Regions from separate parts of the Homo sapiens genome. Here region 1 is linked to region 2. The links are contacts of gene promoters, found by promoter capture Hi-C in blood cells and fetal thymus (Javierre and others, 2016). All regions are on one chromosome and are shown on one strand. Each heading gives the region's core, a stretch centred on a gene start or on the middle of the fragment in contact. The rest is flanking DNA. Distances are from core to core; before and after follow the strand shown. Region 1 overlaps RANBP17 (RAN binding protein 17). Region 2 holds the start of TLX3 (T cell leukemia homeobox 3).

Region 1 (4,766 bases), core at 1,812-4,311, 320 kb after region 2:
AATGTATATAACAAGTAGGGAAAATGTGAAAATATAAAAAACAAGAAAATACATGCTCATTGTTTTAGTACTAAAGACAATAAATATTTTGTCATATTTCCTCTGTCCTTTTGCTAATACTTTAGCTTTCATTGTTTGTTTTACATCTTTGTAATCATACTGTATACATGAAAGTTGATAGTCTGAAATTCTGGCTTAACAGTCATATATATTTTTCAGTAAGCCTAACTTCTTAACTTTCCTTCCTGGATATTAGATAAGAACATGAGTTAGCAAAGACCAGTATACATCTGAGGAAAAAATATAAAAACACACATACTCCAATACATTATTAAGATGTTTAAACTACTTAATACCAAGCTCTCAGGCTAAACGTATCTATTCTCCAAATACTAATTTGCCTTGGGAATAATATCCAATGATTATCTTCTTACACTTATCCTACCAAAACAGTATAACATATTAGTATAGAAGTGATTAATTAATATAGGGAACTTTTAAATAATCATGAAATAAATGATTAAAAATTAAATAATCCACAATATTCCTCATTCAGTTTTGCAGGAAACATTTGACATTAAAGGATCACTATCTTGAAACCTAAAATTCTTTTCGCAATATTTCGATTACAAACTTGTAGCTATTATGACTTATGTTTCCAAATGATACTCAAGCCATCATAATATATGGATGTTAAGCATTCACTGAAGAGGAAGCAAAGATGTGGGATGGATTATTTACACAGACTGAATAGCTTCAGCGTTTCTGCAGCACAAGTAGGATAGATTATATCTCATCCTGATTCCCTTCAAGCAAGATACTTAAGTCAATTATAAGCATTAGAAAATACTTCCAAGTATGTAGTATGAGATTCTCACTGACAACTATTTTTGACAAATAATAATTTTAGCACCACCATTACAGGTGAACATATTTCTAGTAAAAACTTAGTAGAGGGTTTGCCTATGACTTTATTACTGAAATACCAAAGTTACTGACGTGTATTCACACATGATCTTACTTTAAGCAACTTGAATATTTTTAAGATAGCAAATTCTACCCAAGACTCCGGTAAGGAAGGCTTCCCATCTTCATCTTACAAACTGGTTGCCAGTAGCTAGGACTATAGGTGCATTGCCACCATGCCTGGCTAATTTTTTTCCAGTCAAATAATGGCATATTTAATTTGGTACAAAAATAATAAACAGTAAGAGGTATCTGGCAGAGTCTCTGAATGTTCAACAACATCCATCCTTATTCCAGAAGCAAGAACTATCACATAAGTGCAAAGATCATGTATGTATAATACATATATAATGAACTGTAGACATAAAATTTTAATTATGAAAATCTTTTATCAGGGAAAATATGCATATTTGTGGCCCTAGCCTTCTGATTTGTGGACGAAGATTGCCTTGTTGATGATTTCCACAAGATCCAATGACTATTAAAAAAAATTACAGACTGATGGAGGGACTGGGTTTTCAAGTCGTAAAATTTAGTAACTAAAACCTCTTTCAAATTGAAAGTCTTCTTTAGTGCTGACAACTCTTCAAAGTACATCTACTTGGTATTTGGGTATTTAGTCACATACTACATGGTATTTCATTTATTATTCTTATTCCTAGAATCACCAAAAAAAAAAATCAAACACTAAAAGATAGGTGGAATACAGAAAACTTTTCTCTACCAGATGAAATTATCACCCTCTCCCTTACTTAAAAAAAAAAAATCAATCATCAAACTATAATTACTCGAGAACAATCCAAAAAGTGCCATTCACATCAGAATGCACGTGGAGTTTTACTTTGTGCATTTATCCACAGATACCGAATTTTATAATGATTGAGAATTTATAATCATTAAAAGTAAGTAGAAAAAAAGAGAGGAAAAAATAGAGTAAAAATATTCTGTGGGTAAGCATATATTTTATTAAGTAATCACAAAAAATCATCATCTTTGAATTCTTCCAGGATCTAGCATAGCACAAGGGAGAGAGTAAGTGTTTAATGTATATATAATTACATAACAAAATATAATTCTCACAAGATTTGATGTCAAATAATGGTATATTTGGTATGATAAATAAATAGTAAAAGTCAGCTTATTAAAAAAAAACTAAGCCCATATTTTTCCAATTTACTTCCTGTATTTCTCTAACTTACACCATAATTTTAATTACCAGTGGCTGCAAAGATTTTAACTAGATTTTTCTGCCCCAAACATCCTCGTCTAGTGCTTAATGCTCTTGCACCAACACTTAAATGCACTTATGGAATTCATTCTCAAAAGTAGAATTTGGCAAATCTATTTATACAGCAAAGACGTTTTTAAATAAAATAATTAGGCCTTTAGTCTAATTATTTGCTCAACTTTCTGTTAAGCAGGTATAAAATGTGTGTTTTTAAAAACAGTTAATATATATTACCATGTAGGATAAAAAAGTGGGAAGCGGTATAGAGAAATTATTTTTTTTTTAAAAAGGCCTATCTGAATACTAATGTATTATATATGTATTGAGCATATGACATGACTATTAAAATAACAAATCCCTGAACAATAAAACTATCTAGCAGTATGTACATTAACTTGAAATATAAGCACTAACCACTCACCAAGAAGGAAAACCTAACTAGGTCAAATTGTTATCTATTACAAAAACTGATTATGATATATTTATTCAGTATATGGTAGTCAAAAAGCAGCCCAGAAATAGTCTGAAAAGCTTTAAAACACTTAACAGAAAAAAATCCCTAAAGTCACTAAGCATTATTCTGTAACAATCAAGCTTCAACATATAATCTTAAAGGTCACAGGTGCCTTTCCCCTATAATCTACATGATATATTTGGCATGCTGAAATATTTAAAATGTTTCAATGTTTAGTGTTTAAAAGGTATTAAAGCTGCTACCTATTTTTCACCAAAGTGAAAATTCTATGTATGAAACAATTTGTTTAGGATGAACTTTCTAAACACTTTTCCCCCAAATTGTGTATCAAATACAAACATACAAGTTGCCAGTAATCAGAATATATCCAAGTACCATGAAACAGCAGCTAGTACATTATTTTAACATTGGATTGCACTTAAAGTTGTAGTAGTCCATTGAAGATACTATCATGAAATGTTTTTCTATTTCCTTATTCAAGTGTTTTCCTACTCAATTTAACAGTAACTGTTATTACAGTAACATACCATACAGGAAGACATAACAATTGCAGGGAAAGAATGCCATCTGCTGCTTCATATGTGTACTCAACAGTAGGAAAAAGGTTGAATAATAAGTAATTACACAAAACAATTTAGAAATCCATATACACAGATAAAGCTTGAAAGTTTAGATAATTCCCCGTTTTTATTTTGGACAATTTGAAAATACATCAATGAGAACTTATCTTTTAAAAAATTTCTAGATTTGCAATTATTATGGGTACATCACAGGTATATATATATATATGTTTATGGGGTTCATTTGATGTTTTGATAAAGGCATACAGTGTGTAATAAACATCAGGGTAATTGGGGTATCCATTACCTCAAGCATTTGCCATTTGTGTTAGGAGCATTCCAATTCTACTTGTTTAGTGATTTTAAAATATACAATAAATTATTGTTCACTATAGTTACACTACTGGAGCACTTATCGGCTTAATGCAAATTTCAAGTTATTCCACAAAAAAGATCTAAACATGCTTATATATCACTAGTTCATGACACTTATAAACAAGGCTTTTACTCAGGTACTGAGAGCCACAGAGTCAAAAGGAAAGGTTCACTTCCTGGCCTTTACAAACTTATTTATGAATTACTATATTATCCTCTTTAGAAACTTGTGGTTTATATGCAAGGAGATCATATAATTTATCATCCAAACAGAGACATTTTTGAGAATGAAAGATGAAGCTATTAACTAACAATCTGCCAAGACAACAAGCGTGAGCTGGGGAAATCTCAGGCAAATCTGGATGTATGGTAACTTTATTTATAAATTACTATTCTGTTTTCACTCCCTCTGGCTTCATAACCTTCCCAATGCCTTGAAAATCTTCCTGAAAAGCAATTTGGAAATTTTTAGGAAATATGTAAATTCAGAAGAATGAAGGCAAAAAATAAAAAGGAGGAAACTAGCATAGGTATACACTCCCAGACAAGATGGTACCCCTATCCAAGCAGCTACCACAACACATACTGATTTTTTCACTTCACTTTGTTATACCATTTGAATTATTTGGCACTAATAAATATTTTCTTTAGGAAAGGCAATCCTTTCCAGGAGAATTCATTTATACAATAGCATGACATCCTTCAATTGGAATGTTTTCCAGTTGACATCTGGCAGATGAAAGGTACTGGAAAGAAAGCAGATTTGCACAAGTGCACACACGTGTGTGTTTTCCTGTATACCTAGATGGTGATGAACAAAAGAGATACAAGGGATTTCACCCTTTGGTGGTGAAAGATTGAATAGGATATCAAAACAAGGAATGAAGAATGAGAGCAAAAATTTTGAAGATTAACTTGTCTATTTCAAAATTTAAATGGAAGAGAGAAAGGGAATTACTTCTTGCTCAATTTCTGGTATCCTGTTTTGGGAGGACAGAATTCAGGCAAATTCTATTATACTATGCTTGATCAGTATCACTGTTTATGGGTCTATTTTTAAAGGAAAATACATTCCAGGACCTTAACAACACGTATTTATTAATTTTTGGAATTTCACTCACTGATAAGGTTTCATAACCAACCAAGACAAAACTGATGTTTA
Region 2 (5,091 bases), core at 715-3,214:
ATCATTTGTTTTTGTTGTGTGCCAGAGGGTCTCCAGGAGGGGACTCTGCCCGCCGCCCACCTGCACGCCCGGGTATTGTGGCTTCACCAACAATAAAGATTGTTCCTTTCGCCAGATAGCAAGGGCAGGGCCTATGTGTAACTGACTTGGCCCTGCGGGAACCGGGGTCGCTGGGGTCCGCGGGTGAGCAGGCTGGCTCTGCACCACCCGCACGACGCCCGGGGGCTGGGTCAGTCTCATCCAGTTCGCCCAGGGCCTGTCTTGAACCCCTTTCCAGACGCGATCGCTTCGCCGTTTACGGGTTGAATCAAAACAGAGATCGGATAAAAACGCGGCTGGAATGGAGACGCGGAGATGGGGGGAGAGGAAACCGGCGTCCACGAGGATTGTTGAAAATCCGAGAGGGCGGGCTGGAAGAAGGAGGAGAAGGAGAGTGCGAGAGGCCCGTGTGTGTGCGCGTGTGTGTGTGTGTGTGTGTGCCTGTGTGTTTGGGGCGGGGGTGGGTGAGAGGAAATCAAGTGAACGCAGGAGACCGTACAAAACACGGGGAGAGAGTTGGAGGGGCTCACGAAAGATGGGGATGGGGATGGAGGAGAAACCAAGGCGTGGGAGACCACGATGGAGAGAGAAGCACAGGCCAGCGAGAAGGGTGAAAGGAAGAGGTACAATCTGCGAAGGCGGGGTGGGGGTGTGTTTGGGGGAGGCAGAGGGGGGCGGGGGTAGTGGATAGCCTTAAAATAGGGCTAGTGCGAGGCTGCGGCTCGGGGCGGGACAGGTGAAGGGCAGGTGTAAGGTGGGCCGGGTCAGGCCTCTCTCACCGCCACTTGGTCCTCCGGTTTTGGAACCAGGTCTTGACCTGCGCGTCCGTCATTTTGAGGGACTTGGCGAGCGCCGCCCTCTCGGCAGAGGCCAGGTACTTCTGGCGATGGAAGCGCTTTTCCAGCTCGCAGATCTGCACCCGGGAAAAGGACGTGCGCGGCTTCTTACGCTTGGGCGGCGTCCGGTTCTGGTAGGGGTGGCCGATGCGCCGGGTCACGGTGAAGGGCGTGAGTGCGGCCGCCGCTGCGGAGACACAGGAGGGCCCCTGAAGCCCAGCCCGGCTCCGCCACCGTTCAGGCCCCATGCGGACCCCGTGGCGCCCCGTGGGACACGGAGAGCTCCGCTATTTCGCTGGTCGCGCGCGTTTCCAGAGACACCAAGCCGGTCGGGAGACCCCCTCGCCCCCTGTCCCTTCCCCCGGGCACGGGCTTATTTTCCTGCAACTCTCCGATTACCCTCCCCACCACGGCTGCCCGGGGCCCTGGGGCCGAGGCCTCCGCCGCGCTTGGGCCTCTGAAATGGTTTCCGGGAGTGGAGCGCACAGGGCGCGGCGCCTCTGGCCCCGAGAGGGCGGAGGCCTGGAGCCTGGTCGCCAGCTCTGCTCACCTGTGAAGCGGTCTTTCACGAAGCGGCGGCTGCTCTCCATCCAGGGGAAATTGAGACCGCCAAGGCTGGAGACCGTGGGCACGGAGGGCATGGCGGGTAGCGCGCTTGGCAGAGGCGGTGGCACGGCCCCGGGCAGCGGCCTGTGCGCCGGCACCCGGATCACGCCTGCGGGCGCTAGGCTCAGGTTCACACTGTAAGATCCCGCGTCCTCGAAGGGCGCGCCGAGGCCCGCAAAGGAGGCGGGCAGAGACGGGTATGTGGCGCCCGGACGGCCCCCGGGGGGCCCTCCCAGGTAGCTGGCGCCGTCGGGGCCCCGCGGGGCGGGTGCGCTGTCCTGGTCCGGGCTGTTAAGGATCTGGTCGATGCCGAAGCTGATGGGCTCGTGCGGGTGCGGGGTCTGCGCGCTGGCGGGCGCCTCCATCCTGGGCGGGCGGAAGGGCTGGGCTGGGCTGGGCGGGGAGGCGGCTGGGTCCCCGTTACGGCGCGGCCATGGAGCGCCCGGCGCCTCTCGTCGCACTGAAACTTTGCCAAGAGTGCGCGGGCCCGACAGGCTCTGTGTCATCTTTCTTGAACCGAACCTGGAGTTTCCGCTGCTAATTCCTCTCCTGCCGCAGCCATTGGCTGCGATCAACAAGCCTCTCTCCTCTCATTGGCTCCCGGCTTTCAATAAAGGCCTAATTCATGGAAATAGGAGCTTAGGGACTGTTCCAAGGTGACATCATTTTAACAAACGAACAATAGGTCAAATTTATTAGCAGGGATAATGGGCGGCGGATATTAGAGCCCGAACCACAGCCTCCCAAACCCGAAATCTAACGAAGCTGCAATTAGCAGACGCTCCCCGCTCCTCCGGGCCGGGCCGCTTCCCAGACACCGCGCTGGGTGGGTAGAGCGCTCCGCTTGTGAAATTGTCTTTTGCTGAGTGGGTTTTCGTTTTCTTCCAATTTTTTTTTTTTTTCATCTGAGCAAAAGCCAAACCAAATGCATCCTTTCAGGTACAATGGAGTTGCAACCCCGGGACGACCCGGCGGAATCCGCAGAAGCCCCTTGGACGCTACCGCCGCCGGAGGAACGAAAGGGGCGCACTACCCGGGGCAGGCTTCGCGCTGCCTGCGCGCGGGGCGAGGGGAGCACCGTAGCGTTCTCCGCGCCCCGGATGACGCCGACCCGCGTGGGGAGAATTCGCCCCCGCCCGGGTTTCGGCCGCGGCCTCGCGGCCACTTTGGAGACACTCCCTGGCTCCGGCCAGGCGGACCGAGGCGTGACTCGCAGGTGCCCACGCGTGCCAGCTGCGGCTGGGCTAGGGACGCGGGGTCGCCCGGTGGGGAGCGGGGACCTGACTCTCGTAATTCGTTGCAGGATGGAAGGGGGCTGTGGTCGCGCGTGGGAACCCGCTCGCGGCTCGGCGGGTCTAGGGACTTCGGGTTCCTGAATGTCAAAGGCGCGGGCAGCTCCTAGAGCAAATTGCGGGATTTCTTTGGGAAACGCGACTGGTGAGCCCTTCCCGGCTCCAGTCCACTTTGGGCGCTGGAACCACTCCCCGTTCTGCTCGCGCCTCAGTGACTGTCTACCCGGCCCAGGGCACCGTGGACAGGACCGCACACGAAGTAGTCACCTTCCGCTGCAGCTTTGGGGAGACAAGCGGAATCATTTTCTTCCAGCGAATTCTAAAATCGTTAGGTGCAAACTCTTTGAGTGTCGCACCCCTGGCCTGGGTTCTTCCTCCCGCTCCTTGTGGTGTGGACAGTGGTGAGAGCTCGGATGTGCTGTTGTTGGCCAGAAGTGTGTTCAAATTTGGACTGGCCATTTCCTCGCTGAGTGACCTTGAGAAATTGACTCTATATATTTAGATTTCGGTTTTCTCGTTTGCAAAAAAGGAAAATAATGCATGCATGCGGGTTGTTCGTGAGCCGCGAGTGAGATATTGAGGGAGCGCAGAGCACTGGGCCTGGCACGTAGTAGGCACTGGGCAGCGTGGCTCACCTCCCACTCTATCCCCCCAGAGTAATGGCTGATGTATTATTGTTGTGACTCTTGTTTATTTTGTTGGCAGTTTAATTTTATTTGCAGGGGCTCAGTACGTTGGAGAGAAAGGTGTATTTGTCTACCAGTAGGGTCAGTTTCAGAGGACGGGGAAAGACAGGAGGTGCAGGTTGGGGATTCTTTCTCTCTTCTCCCAACAATCCAAAGGCGTCAGGATTTGCAGGGCCTCCAGGCCTGGGTCTGGAGTTAGGTCACTTGCCCGCTGTGTGACCTTGGGCAAATTCCTGGCCCTTGCTAAGCCTTCCTGGTGGGTGTGGAGAGGGAGGCCCAACAGTGAGGAGTGAGAGCTGCAGGATGTCTGGGGTCTGGGCAAGTGCTCCCTCACTCCCTTCCAGCGACAACGACCCTCAGATGGGGTAGATGCCATTGCCCTGGCTCCAGGGGGCCTCCTGCTTCTAATTCAGGCTCTGCCACTGGCAGTGTGGGTCCCTAACCGCCCCTCCCAGAACCGCATTTTCCTTATTTGTAAAACAAAAAGGGCACCAGCTACCCCCAGGGTGGCTGTGAGAACAAAATGAGATAACATCTGTGGCAGTGCCTGTGTGAAACTCTGGCGGTTATATCATAATAACTTTAATGACAACTATAAAGCTACTGTAGCTGAGACCCTAGCCTGTGCCAGGCAGGGAGGTGGACACTTATTTATTCTTCACAATGACCCTGTGAGGAAAGGGCTGTTAGTGGCCCCAATTTCTCACTAATGAGGGAATTGAGGCTTTGAGAGTTCAAGGGAAGCACAGCTCCCCACTTGGGGGCTGGAGTTGGCACCTCACCAGCTCCACTTCCCTTCTGGCTTCCAGTGCCCGGGACTCAGGGCTGCCCTTGTCACTTCAGACACTGTTAAATCAGGACAACAAGGCCCACCGCACAGAGGTTTGTGGCACAGAATTAAGGCGTGGGTGGCACAGCGCTGCTCCCAGCTTGTGTGCTTAAGAATGGGATTCCCACCTCAGTTTACCAGCTGTGGACTCAGGGAATTATTCATCCTCTTTATGCCTCAGTTTTCTCATCTGGTAAATAAACCTCATGGGATTAAATAAGCGCCCCAGGTAAAGCCTGGCACGGGTCAGGGCTCTGCTTCACTGCTTGGCTTCCGGCTTCCTGAGATCCACGGTCCCTCATCGTCCAGCCCTGTCATACAGATGAAGGAGCTTTGGGCCACTAATTATAAGCCTCCTTTCACTTCCTATCCAGATAGCTCTTAGGCAGCTCAGGAATGGGGGGAACTTGGTTAGTCCCTAGGACAGTGGTTCTCAGAGTGTGTTTCCAGAGCAGCAGCATCAGCATCACTGGAGAATTTGTTAGAAATGCAAATTATTGGACCCTCGCCAGACCTACGGCATCAGACACTCTGGGGTAGGACTCGGCAGTCTGTGCTTAACAAGCCCTCCAGGTGATTCTGATGCCTGCTCAACTCTGGAAGCCAGTGCCCAGAATATGGTCCATTCCATCTGAGTTTTCAAATGTGTTGTTGTAACATTGTGGGAAGATTCTCTCAGAATTTGCAACTCTCATACGAATCTGTACTAATGCCTTCCACTTCTCATTCCCCGTGTCGCTCATTCATGCCTTCTCCTGATCATACTTGCCAAAGGTTTGTTATTTTGTTGGTTTTTAAAAAAG

What was found. The method cuts DNA at HindIII sites, captures the fragments that hold promoters and counts their contacts. A CHiCAGO score of 5 or more calls a contact.
Region 1: a contact is called between a fragment that was not itself captured here and the fragment with the promoter of TLX3 in region 2, in 1 of 17 cell types (endothelial precursors). The highest score is 5.4, in endothelial precursors.

What each region holds. Positions count from the first base shown.
Region 1 is chr5:170,985,254-170,990,019 of GRCh38, reverse strand. The region is part of intron 14 of RANBP17 (RAN binding protein 17); the gene reads right to left. Among named protein-coding and RNA genes, the nearest start is that of RANBP17, 130 kb to the right of the region's middle. The HindIII fragment of the contact is 541 bases long and covers 2,791-3,331 here.
Region 2 is chr5:171,306,121-171,311,211 of GRCh38, reverse strand. TLX3 (T cell leukemia homeobox 3) reads right to left here and starts at 1,964. Exons shown (of 3, transcript NM_021025.4): 1 at 1,426-1,964; 2 at 819-1,062. The coding sequence starts at 1,846. RefSeq lists enhancers at 1-701, 702-1,586, 1,587-2,472, 2,473-3,357. The HindIII fragment of the contact is 15,951 bases long and covers 1-5,091 here.